Linked DNA regions of Homo sapiens: region 1 is linked to region 2. Evidence: promoter capture Hi-C in 16 types of primary human blood cells and fetal thymus (Javierre and others, 2016). All regions are on one chromosome and are shown on one strand. Each heading gives the region's core, a stretch centred on a gene start or on the middle of the fragment in contact. The rest is flanking DNA. Distances are from core to core; before and after follow the strand shown. Region 1 has its middle 27 kb from the start of OR6Y1. Region 2 holds the start of KIRREL1 (kirre like nephrin family adhesion molecule 1).

What was found. The method cuts DNA at HindIII sites, captures the fragments that hold promoters and counts their contacts. A CHiCAGO score of 5 or more calls a contact.
Region 1: a fragment that was not itself captured here is called in contact with the fragment with the promoter of KIRREL1 in region 2 in 1 of 17 cell types (total B cells); the score reaches 5.1 in total B cells.

Annotation. Positions count from the first base shown.
Region 1 is chr1:158,524,808-158,530,609 of GRCh38, reverse strand. It overlaps the pseudogene HSP90AA3P. Among named protein-coding and RNA genes, the nearest start is that of OR6Y1, 27 kb to the left of the region's middle. The HindIII fragment of the contact is 2,059 bases long and covers 2,170-4,228 here.
Region 2 is chr1:157,989,117-157,995,423 of GRCh38, reverse strand. It overlaps KIRREL1 (kirre like nephrin family adhesion molecule 1), which reads right to left and starts at 1,779. Exons shown (of 15, transcript NM_018240.7): 1 at 1,696-1,779. The coding sequence starts at 1,747. The HindIII fragment of the contact is 5,747 bases long and covers 1-5,616 here.

The sequences.
Region 1 (5,802 bases), core at 1,950-4,449, 530 kb before region 2:
TCTTGAGGATTATTACATTTGTGTTCATCAGGGATATTGGTCTGCAGTTTTCTTATTTTGTTGTGTATTTGCCAGGCTTTGGTATGAGTATGTTGCTTGCTTAATAGAATGAGTCGGAATAAAGTCCCTCCTCCTCAATTTTTTGGAATATTTTCAGTAGCATTGGTACCAGCTTCTCTTTGTATGTCTATTAGAATTCTGCTGTGATTCTATCTGGTCTAGGGCTTTTGTTGGTGGTGGTGGTGATGGTGGTGGTTGCTGGCTTTTCATGAGCAATTCAATTTCAGAACTTGATATTGGTCTGGTCAGGGTTTCAACTTCCTTGTGATTCAATCTTGGGAGGTGGTGTGCTTCCAGTTGTTTATCCATTCCCTCTAGATTTTCCAGTTTGTGTGCATAGAGGTGTTCATAAAAGTCTCTGAGGATCTTTTGTATTTTTGTGGGATTGATTGTAATGTCATCTTTGCCATTTTTGAGCGTGATTATTTGGATCTTCTCTCTTTGCCAATCAAGCTAGTGGTTTATTGATCTCGTTTATTCTCTCAAGTAATCAGCTTTTGGATTTATTGATCCTTTTAATGGATTTTTGAATATCAATTTTGTTCAGTTCTTCTCTGATTTTGGTTATTTTTTTCTGCTAGCTTTAGGTTAGTTTGTTCTTGTTTTTCTAGTTCCTCTTAGTGTGATGATAAATTGATAATTTGGGATCTTTTTAAATCCTTGTTGTAGGAGTTTAACATCATAAACTTTCCTCTTAACATTGCTTACACTGCACCCCAGCGATTTTGGTATGTTGCATCTCTGTTTTCCTTTATTTTAAAGAATTGTTTTATTTCACCCTTAATTTCGTTGTCCATCCAAAAGTCATTCACAAGCAAGTTTTTTAGTTTCCATGTAATTATGTGTTTTTGAGAGATCCTCCTGGCATTAATTTCAATTTTTATTCCCCTATGGTCCAAGAGTATGGTTGGTATGATTGCTATTTGTTTGAATTTATTGAGACTTGCCTTATGGCCTAGCATGTGGTCACTCTTAAAGTACATTCTGTGTGCAGTTGAGAAAAGCATATATTCTGTGGTTGATGAGTAGTCTGTAGAGGGTTTTTTTTTTGTTATTTTTGTTTGTTTGTTTTTTGTTTTTGAGATGGAGTCTCGTTCTGTCACCCAGGCTGGAGTGCAGTGGTGCAATCTCGGCTTACTGCGAGCTCCGCCTCCCGGGTTCACACCATTCTCCTGCCTCAGCCTCCCGAGTAGCTGCGACTACAGGCGCCCTCCACCACGCTTGGCTAATTTTTTGTCTTTTTAGTAGAGACGGGGTTTCACCATGTTAGCCAGGATGGTCTCGATCTCCTGACCTTGTGATCCGCCCACCTCGGCCTCCCAAAGTGCTGGGATTACAGGCATGAGCCACCGTGCCCAGCCCTGTAGAGGTCTTTTAAGTCCAACTGGCCAAGTGTCAAAGTTATGTCCAGAATTCCCTGATAGTTTTCTGCCTCGATGATCTGTCTAATACTGTCAGTGGTGTCGAGTCCCCCACTTTTGTGTGGCTGTTTAGATATTTTTGTAGTCCTAGGTGTACCTGTTTTATGAATCTGAGTGTTCCAGTGTTAGGTGCATATATATTTAGCGTAGTTAAGTCTTCATGTTTAATGGAATCCTTTATCATTACAGAATATACTTCTTTGTCCTTTTTTACTGTTGTTGGTTTAAAGTCTGTTTTATCTGATGTGAGAATAGTGACCCTTGTTCTTTCTTGTTTGTTTATTTTCTCTCTGTGTGATAAGTCTTTCCCCAACCCTTTACTATGAGACTGTGGGTGCCATGACATGAGTGATGGGTCTCTTGAAGACAGCAGATAGATCGGTTTTGTGTTTTCTCTAACTTGTCCCTCTGTACCTTTTAAGTGGGATATTTAGACCATTTAAATTCAAGGTTTTGATCCTGATGGTCATGAAGTTTCCAGTTGGCTGCTTTATAGTCTTAATTGTGTACAATTACTTTATTAGGTCTGTGGGCTACTTACGTGTGTTTTTATGGTAGCCAGTATCATTCTTTTGTTTCCATGTTTGTAACTCCATTAAGGATCTCTTGTAAGCCTGGTCTACTGGTAAGAAATTCCTTTAGTGATTGGTTGTCACTAAAATTTTATTTCTTCTTCACTTATAAAGCTTAGTTCATCAGGATATGAAACATTGGTTGGAATTTCATTTCTTTAAGAATACTGAAAATAGGTCGCCAATCTCTTTTGGTTTTTAAGGTTTCTGCTGAGAAGTCTGCTGTTAGTCTGATGGGAATCCCTTTGTAAGTTATCTGACCATCTTCTTTAATTGCCTTTAAGATTTTTTTCTTTGGTGTTGACCTTGCTTAGTCTGGTAACTCGGTTCCTTGGTGATATATATTGTGTAAAGTCTTTCTCAGGTGTCTACTACTCTGGCAGGATTGGAAAATTTTTCTTGAATTATTCCCTCAAATATGTTTTTCAAGTTTTTCACTTCTACTGCTTCTCTCTCAGGAATGCCAGTAACCCATAGGTTTGGTCACTTTACATAATCGCATATTTTTCAAGGACTTTGTTGATTTTCTTTTCTTTTATTCTCTCTCTCTTTCTCTGTGTGTGGTCTGCCTGAGCTAGTTTAAAAGGCTGAAATTCTTTTTTTTTTTTCTGCCTGGTTTAATCTATTGATAAAACTTTCAATTGTATCTTGAAATTTCTTAAGTGAGTTTTTAATTCCAGGATCTCTGATTAATTTCTTTTTAACATGTTTATGTCTTCTTTCATTTCTTGGACTGCTTTAGTAGTTTCCTTGTGTTGATTTTCAACATTGCCTCGGACTTCATTGAGCCTTCTTGCAATTCATGCTTTGAATTCTTTGCCTGTCATTTCTGAGCTCCCATTTTGGTTATGAGTCCTTGCTGGAGAGCTAGTGTAATTCTTTGGTGATGTCACAAGATTCAGATTTCTTATGGTGCCAGAATCCTTATACTGGTCCCTTTCATCTGGAGAGGATGGCACTTCTAATTTTTGTAATTATTTTTGTGTGGATAGGATTTTTTTTTCTTTCCTTATATATTTTTTTCCTTTCCCCTTCTCTCTAAGTGGTGCAACTGTAGAGTATGTTGAGTAGGGTCTTTTGGCTTTGTTTCTATACCCCTTTTCACTTCTTTTAGCAGTTTTTATATTAGGCAGTGCAATTTGACCTGTGGAGCAGTAGATGGGGCTTAAGGGTAAGAGCCAGCCGTAACATAAGCAGATGGCTATGTATTTGATCTTTGTTTACTCTCAAGTGTTCTCTGTTATTTCAGATGATGGCCTGGATGGGCATTCCAGGTTCCCTAGCTTCCTGTTCCATGGGGATGAGGAGACACATCTGGGCAAAGCTGTAGTGTTTCAATTTTTGTTTATTTCCATGTACATTTGATTTTCCCTTTGATTTTTTCTCTGACCTGTTGGTATCTTATGAGTGTGTTGTTTAATTTCCACCTATTTGTAATTTTCTAAATTTCTTCCTGTTATTGATTTCTATATTTATATCATTGTAGCCAGAAAAGATACTTGAGATGATTTTAGTCCTCTTCAATTTGATAAGATTTGTTTTGTGACCTAACATGATCTATTCTGGAGAATGTTCCATGTGCACTTGAGAAAATTTTGTATTAAACTTCTGTTGGGCGAAATGTTCTGTATATGTTTATTAGTCCATTTGACCAATGGTGTTACTGAAGTCTCCTGTTTCCACATTGATTCACTCTCTGAATGATCTGTCCATTTTTAAAAGTAGGATAGTGAAGTCTCATTATTATATTGCTGTTTATTTCTCCCTACAGTTCTGTTACTACTTGCTTTATATATGTTTAGGTGTTCCCATGTTGAATGCATCTATCTTTACAGTTCTTATATCCTCAAGATGACATCATCCCTTTATCATTGTACAGTGACTTTCTTTGTCTCTTATGACAGATTTTGATTGAAAGTCTATTTTGTCTGATGGAAGTATAACTTTCCCTGATTTTTTTTGGTTTACATTTGCATGAAATATCTTGCTCTATCCCTTCACTTTTAACATGTGTTCCTAAGGCTAAAAAGAGTCTTTTGTAGGCAGCATATTGTTAGATCTTGGCTTTTTTTTTTTTTTTCACTCTTCTGTATTTGTTACAACTTTAAGCAAAATGTGACTCGGGCACTACATTTCCATCCACAAGACTGGCTCTGAGTTATTTTTTGAAAAGCTTTGTGATAGGCTTAGGTAGGCTTATAACTTTGCTCCTCCAAACAATACTTTTCTTTGGAGAACAAGAACTCTCTGTGGAGATTTCCTTCCATCAAGTTGCTTCAGTTTAACCTATTTCTAGAGGACTAGTTCATACAGAACTGGCAACTACAGGGGATGAAAAGTTCAAAAGTAGATGCTACAAAATGTAACAAATACTTTTCTTCTAAACATCAAGATATAGCTCAGGAACACTTGGATAACAAGATTTGGCCTACTAAGGAATATGGATTGATAGCTAAACACTTTAGACCACAAAGTAAACATCATGTTTCACACATCCTGCAACACACATTACTTCGATCTGTTAAAATAAGCCAATGTGAAACTAAGAAAAAAATTACTAGCTCTGCTTTAGTGCTTAAGGTATCACAGCATCACTTAGAAGTAGAAAGAAATCTTATCTTCCCCTTAAAGTAGTTGTTGTCATGCCATACAGACTTTTTAATGTTAACAAAAAATAAAGAAAAATATCCTTGAAAATATATTTCCCTCAGCTGGAGCTTAGTCTGTTTCTTCCATGCATGATGTGTCGTTGTCTCCTTCAAGGGGTGACATTTCTTCAGCAGTATCATCAGCAGTAGGGTCATTTTCATCAATACCCACACCAAGTTTGATCATCCTGTAGATCCTGTTAGCATGTGTCTGGGGATCTTCCAGACCAAAGCCGGAAGACAAAAGAGCAGTTTTGTAAAGCAAGACGACCAGATCCTGCACAGACTTGTACTTATCTGCCTCTGCCTTTTGCCTTAAGGTCTCAATAATGGAATGGTCAGGGTTTATCTCCAGGTGTTTCTTTGCTGCCATGTAACCCATTGTTGAGTTGTCTCTTAGGACTTGAGCTTTCATGATTCTTTCCATGTTTGCTGTCCAGCCATATATGCTCGTGACAATATAGCATGGAGACTTCACCAATCAGTTTGGCACAACCACCTTTTCAACTTTTTTCTCCAATATGTCTTTCATGATTTTGCAGATGTTCTCAAACTTTGTTTTTTTCTCTTCCTGTTTCTTTTTTTCTTCTTCATCCTCTGGAAGTTCCAAGCCCTCTTTGGTGACTGACACTAAAGTCTTCCCCTCAAATTCCTTCAGTGTTGGACACAGTACTCATCAATTGGCTTGATCATATAGTTCACTTCTAAGCCATGTTTCCGAAGACATTCCACAAATTTAGCTACCTGGTCCTTGGTCTCACCTGTGATGTAATAGATATGTTTCTAGTTTTCCTTCATTCTGGTGCAGTAGTCCTTGAGAGAAACCATCTCATCACCAGAAGCAGATGTGTAGTATCTTAACAGCTCTGAAAACTTCTTCCAATGTTGAGAGTCTTCATATATTTCAAGCTTTACGCTTTTAGAGAACTGCTCATAGAATTTCTTGTAGTTCTCTTTATCTTCTGCCAGTTTGGTAAAGAGTTCTAAGCATTTTTTGACCAAATTTTTCCTGATAACTTCCAAAATTTTGCTTTGTCACAACATCTCATGGGAAATATTTAGACGGAGATCCTCTGAGTCCACCACCTTTCCAATGAAGTT
Region 2 (6,307 bases), core at 530-3,029:
GTCATCTTCCCAACTTTCTGCCAAGTGGCTGGCCTGGCCTGCCAACCCCAGGGCCAGGCCTCCTCCTTTCCCCTAGCACCACCTCCCACTCCTGGCTCACACCACAGATGTGTGCCCTTCCCATATCATAGTGTGTGCTGGGGGGCTGGCATGGGTGCCCTGTGGGGAGAAATGAATCAAGACGTGCCCCCACCAACTCAGCCAGGCTTTGCCTTCGGAACTGGGAAGAGACCCGACAAGGAGAGGAAAGGTCCAGCATAACACACCACCTACAAACGCAGGAAGGGAACAGAAAGCAGGGCAATAATGCCTGAGGCTGTTCTACCCAGATCCATTCCCAGACACCCCCTAAAAGAGGACACCTCCTCCATCTGCAGTCTGTACATCTCCATAGGTGTCTGCCCATATGAATGTCTGTTCAAGTTTCTTTGTTTGCTAGAGGGTTGGTTTCTGTGAGAGCGTGTGTCCTGTCCTTGTAAACGCCTGCATACATGTACTGTGTATAGTTGTAACGTTCGGGTGGATGAATGCGTGAGTGTGTGCCGATCTGGGGGAGGAATCTGTCTTCCTCAGATGTCTCCGTGTCTTTGTGTATATGTGTCTGTCTCAGTGTGGGGGATGTTTGTGGGGATGTCTCTCTCTCAGTAGGTGAGTAGTCTGTCTCAGTGTCTGTGAGTGTTTTACGGTGTTTGTGTGTCAATTTCTGTGTGTCAGCTCCATTTTTGGGGAGGGAAGGAGTTCAGCAGGATTCAGTCTTCCTTAGAGTCAGACCTGGGAGGCAAGAACCAACTCCCACAGACCCCAGTCCCTGCTGCAGTCTGGACCCTTGGTTCCCTCAGCCCTCTTCCCTCCCCCAACCCCAGCCCTGCCCAGGATACACTGACATCCTCATCTCTCCCAACCACCTCCCTCACCTCCCAGCCTCTCCCCTGCCAGTGTCAAATAAGCCCCAGACAGCAACACTTTCCTGAGCCCAAGTAGAGTGTCAGCCCCCTCCCCCCACCGCCTCTGCCCCCGCCCCCGTGAGTTCCCCCCCTCTGTATCAAGCGGGCCTGAAGCTGTATGTGGAACTCCACTCTCCACCCAGAGCCTCCGTGGGCAGGGGTTCCAAATCCCCACTAGAGGCGCCGAGACACCCCTCCCTTCCTCTAGAGGGGGCAGCCCCAGGCAGGCTGGAGCCGTGATTCAGACTCAGACCCCCGAGGGGCTGGGCTGGAGTAGGGGGATCCCCTTGGCAACATCTTCGGGAGGTGGGACCCAGCTTTTCGCTCACCCCCTCGCCCGAAATCCGAAATCCCACCCTCTTCCCAGCCTTGCCCTTAGGCTGGACTCAGGCGTCCGGAACCCCGGCCTCAGAGGGCGAGGGTCGGTAGGGCTGCCAGAAGCTCAAGAGAAAGCGTTCGGTTCCCCGTTTTACTCGGACCTCCAGCCCTCGCGGCCCCATTGCTCGGTTCTCCCGCGCAGCCAGAGGAAACAACTTGGGCAAATCAACGGCAAACTCATTCTCCCCAGCCCCTCGTTACTCCGCGCCCCCTCCCCCAGGGCTCTGCGCCCGGACCGAGCCCCCGCCTCGTGGCGTCCGGACCCGGGGACTGGCCGCGGGCCGCGGGGCACTCCAGCACTCTCCCACCGGGGAAGCAGTGCCCCGGCCCCGGGGGGAAGCCGAGCGTCCGGGGGTGGGCTGGGGGCCCTTACCTTGGGAGAAAGTATCGGAGAGAGTGAGGATCCAGACGAGGAGGCTCAGCATGCTGTCCGCCCGCCGTGCGCCCGCCCGCGGCTGGGGCCCGGAGTTGGCGAGCGAGCCAGAGGAGCGGGCTGGGGAGGAGGGGAGCCCGGGAGCCCGGGAGCCCGCCCCCCGCCCGCCCGCGCCCGCCCCTGCACACACACACGCGCGCGCGCACACTCACGCGCACAAACTCATTTCCCTGCCCTCCGATTCTCTTTATCTCTCTTTCCTCCCAGACCTTTTTCTCCTCCTGGTCGCCCTCCCCCTTTAATTATTTCTCCTCTCAAGCTGTATCTCTCTGGGTCTCTTTCGGTCTTTGCTCCCCCTTTCTCTCCCCTTCTCTTCCTTCCCTCTCTCCCTCCCTGCCTCCCTGCCTGCCTGCCTCCCTCCCTCCGCCTGACGTCTACTCTCCCTCCGACGGCGCCTCCCTCCACGAGCCCTCCCCCTGCCCCCCCACAACGCGCGCACACACATACCCCCCTCGCTGGAACTGAGATGGAAGGAGAGCAAAGAGGGAAAGGAATTGAGGGCAAAGGCAAAAGGGGGTGAAAAATGTGACCGTCGTGGGTTCTGGGGCAGGCACGACGGGACCCCTGGCCACCCCACCCCCTCCTATTTATAGACGCAATCTTGGTCGCGGGCTATGGAACTAAGCAGTGGAGGAGGAACATGGGCTGAGGGACATCAGCCTCTAGCTCAGAGGATGTGATGGGGAGTGTGTGTGTGTGTGTGTGTGTGTGTGTGTTTCCGTGTGTGTGTCTAGGAGTGGGGTGGGGGGCAGGGAGTTAAATAAACATAAAGACCTTTCTTTTTAAATTCCACACCCAAAGTCTAGCCCCTAGATTCCCCAAATTAAGAATTCTCAATTGACTAATGAATGCTTGGATAAGGGAGGGGCATACATGCCTCTCCCCACCTATAAAACCCAGAACTGGAGAATGGGAGCTGCCTCTTGGACCTGCCTTGAGGCCCTGCCTTGGCTTCACCCAGTCAAGGTTGAGCACAGCTAGGCGTTGGAGGACTCAGCGGCCTGGAAGAGGCACAGTTGACCCTTCCTTTGTTCATCTTAGCCTTCCACCCATCCCGAAGGAGAAGGTAGCCAACTGGATGGCTTTGAAGGGCCAAGACCTGGCCTCACCTCCCTGAATGCAAGCCAGAGGAGAAGACAGCCACCAGTCAGATCTCTAAGCACGCTGGAGTTTGAGATCTTTTGGGGTAGGGACATGGAGGAACTAGGAAGGAAGGGAATTCCTGAGAATCATGAGAGCATTCAGGAGGGATCTCCACTTTCTTAAGGGCCCAGTTTGGCAACCAGCTCCTCTTCTCACCCCTGACCAGATACTTCTGCTCACAGGATTGCTCGGGTAGCCAGAGGTCTGGACCCTAGGGAATGGACAGAGAAGTTGCTGGAATTGCACAATTTTACAGTAATGTGTTGGTCCAAAGAGGTCTCCACTTCTTTCCTCCCAGATCCCAGATCTCCTGGGTCTCTAACACTCCCCGCCAAGTTTTCTCAATTTCTGCCCCTGAAAGTAGGTGCGTGGCTCTCTGGTGCCCTCTGTTGATGTGTAGCGGCCACAGCTCCTCTTTCCTCCGCAGATACTAACACCAGCCTGTGGTCCAGACGCATCCACACACAATTAGAAGACAGAGAAAGGCAGGAAAACACCCAAGCTCATATGCAGAAGCCCCATATGCACAGACCCAGAGAATTCTTCATATATTCCAAAACACAGGCAAGCACAGCTTAAGAATAGAGCCATACTTTGGCCAGAGAAATAGGACTGCAATCCCAAACGTACACAGAAAGACACCAACACACAGACACATAAGGCTTTTCATTTGTTCATTCATTAATCATACATTCCACAGATATTTTTTCAGCTCCAGACTGCTATTTTCCAGTCACCATTCTAGGCTTTGGGGAGACAATAATAATAAAAAAAAAAGGACAAAGTCTTTCCCTTTAATGTTCCATTCTGGAGGAAAGTCAGAGGCAGTAGAAAAAAATATGAAATATACTAGGTTATGGTAAATGCTATGGGGGACAAATAAAGCAGGATAAAAGATTAGGGAGAGGGAGAGAGGGAGGAATTACTGTTCTTACAGGTAATCAAAGAAAGCTGTTCTGCTACAGCCACATTTGGGCACAGACCTGAAGGAACTGAGGGTTTAGCTGCTCAGGCGTCTGAGGGAAGAATGCAGCAGGAAGATGGTAGCAGCAAAGGCAAAAACCCTGAGGTAGGGAGCTCCGGACATGTCAGCGAGACAGCCTTTTCTCCTTTCCACTCCACATGATGGTGTATGGAGGGGAAGGCGAGGGTGACCCTGACTTAGGAAAGTATTATTTTTGGTGTGTGTGTGTTTTCTTTTCTTTTCTTTTCTTTCTTTTTTTTTTTTGAAGGAGTTGCACTCTGTCACCCAGGCTGGAGTGTAGTGGCATGATCTTGGCTCACTGCAACCTCCATCTCCTGGGTTCAAGCGATTCTCCTGCCTCAGCCTCTTGAGTAGCTGGGATTACAGGCACCCGCCACCATGCCCAGCTAATTTCTGTATTTTTAGTAGAGATGGGGTTTCACCATGTTGGCCAGGCTGGTCTTGAACTGCTGACCTCAAGTGATTTGCCTGCCTCGGCCTCCCAAAGTACTGGGGTTACAGGTGTGAGCCACCACACTCGGCCTAGGAGAGCATTAATTTAAAAAAAAAGGTCTTTAATCGAAGGAAGGGAATATTCTTAGCTCAGTGTTTCCTGCCTAATCTCCATGTCTGATATCAGGCTTGATAGCTATTCTTTTTATGAGAAGGGACTGGGTTATCAGACCTTTTGGATTTTTGTGGGCCTTTTATTTTGCCTCAAAAGCCTAGAAACAGAGGAACCAAGTTTCTCTAGCTCACTAACAGCGAAAACAACAATCTGGCCTGTCTCCTCTGGTCCTTTAGCTTTTCTTTTCCCTCCCCCTTTCCTTTAATTCCAAATCTTCACCAGCTCAGTTCATAGCAAACTCATGTCTCTAGAATTTCTTCCACATAAGTCATCCAGCATCCCAGATCTCAGAGCTTAAGACACCATAGACCTCATCCCCAGCCAGTGGTCCTCAACACCAGTTGTGCATAGCACCTCCTGAGGGCCTTTAATTTTATTATTATTATTTTTTAATTTTTTGAGATGGAGTTTAGATCTGTCACCTGGGCTGGAGTGCCGTGGCATGATCTCAGCTCACTGTAACCTCCGCCTCCCGGGTTCAAGTGATTCTCCTGCCACAGCCTCCCAAGTAGCTGGGATTACAGGTGTGTGCCACCATGCCTGGGTAGTTTTTGTATTTTTAGTAGAGACAGCATTTCGCCATGTTGGCCAAGCTGGTCTCGAACTCCTGATCTCAGGTGATCCACCCGCCTCAGCCTCCCAAAGTGCTGTGGTTACAGGCATGAGCCACCATGCCCTGCCCTGAGGGCTGTTTAAAAACACCAGTGCCATGCCCTCATCCCTAAAGATTAATTGTTCTGGGGTGAAGTTCAAGCATCAGTATTTTTAGACATAGCTCCAGGTGATTCTAGTAGACAGCCAAGGTAGAGAGCTGCTAAACTAAGCAAACCCCTGCTTTCCAGACATTGTCTTCAGCAAGTCTGCACACCACACAAGTGTCCTGCCCTCTTATCTCCACTAGCATTTCTTCTGCTTATTGCCAATCTTGTATCACCCTCCCCTCCTGGGGCAACCCCAATTAAGCTGCCCTAACTTTGCTCCATCCTCGTCTCTTTAACACTAAGGCTCACAATTTTGTCTAGTCGAATTAACTGAGTCTCTTAGAATCTAATAACATAACTCATCAAACTGTAGACATCCTGGGGCTGAGTCCCTAGTATTAGTCAGATGATCCAAAGATAAAGCTTGTGTCTTTTCCATCAGACTGGACATATCTTCCTAGGACAGGATATCTGCCTCCCCTATCAAACTTGGGGATTCTTGAGGGGCAAGGAATATGCATGTCACACCATTCTGGAGCTCCCTGAGGGTAGAGCGAAAGCTGGGTAAGTCCCTCCCTATCAGAGAGGTACCTTGCAGAGTAGTTGACAGCAAAGCACATGGGCCCTGAAACCAGACAGGGATTCAAATCTAGGTTCTTTCCCTTCCTTTCTGTGTGACCTTGGACATTTTATGTAGCTAACCTCTCTAGTTCTTGTTTTTTTCATATGAAAACAGGGATAATAATAGTAGTTACATTATGGGGTAGTTGTGAGGATTGAGTTCATATCCATACAGCCCTTAGAACAATACTAGGCATGCAGCATATGCTCAGTAAATGTTAGCTGTGATTATTTTTCAGTTTTAGAGCTTCCCCAAACAGAGATCTTTTGAATCTTCCTCCTGTAGATTTGTCTTCATCCTCATGCACAGAGCCCTGCCCCAACAGAAGCAGGCAGGCGCGAAGGCGGAGGAAGTAATCCCTAAGGATGCTACTTCACCTAGAATAAAGGAGAGAAACAGCCAAAGGTTATATATGGAGTTAAGAGAAATATTAATAATTTTTTTTAGCACAAAAGCAAAAAGATCAAGAGGTCAGGGAGTGAGCAGGAAGGCAA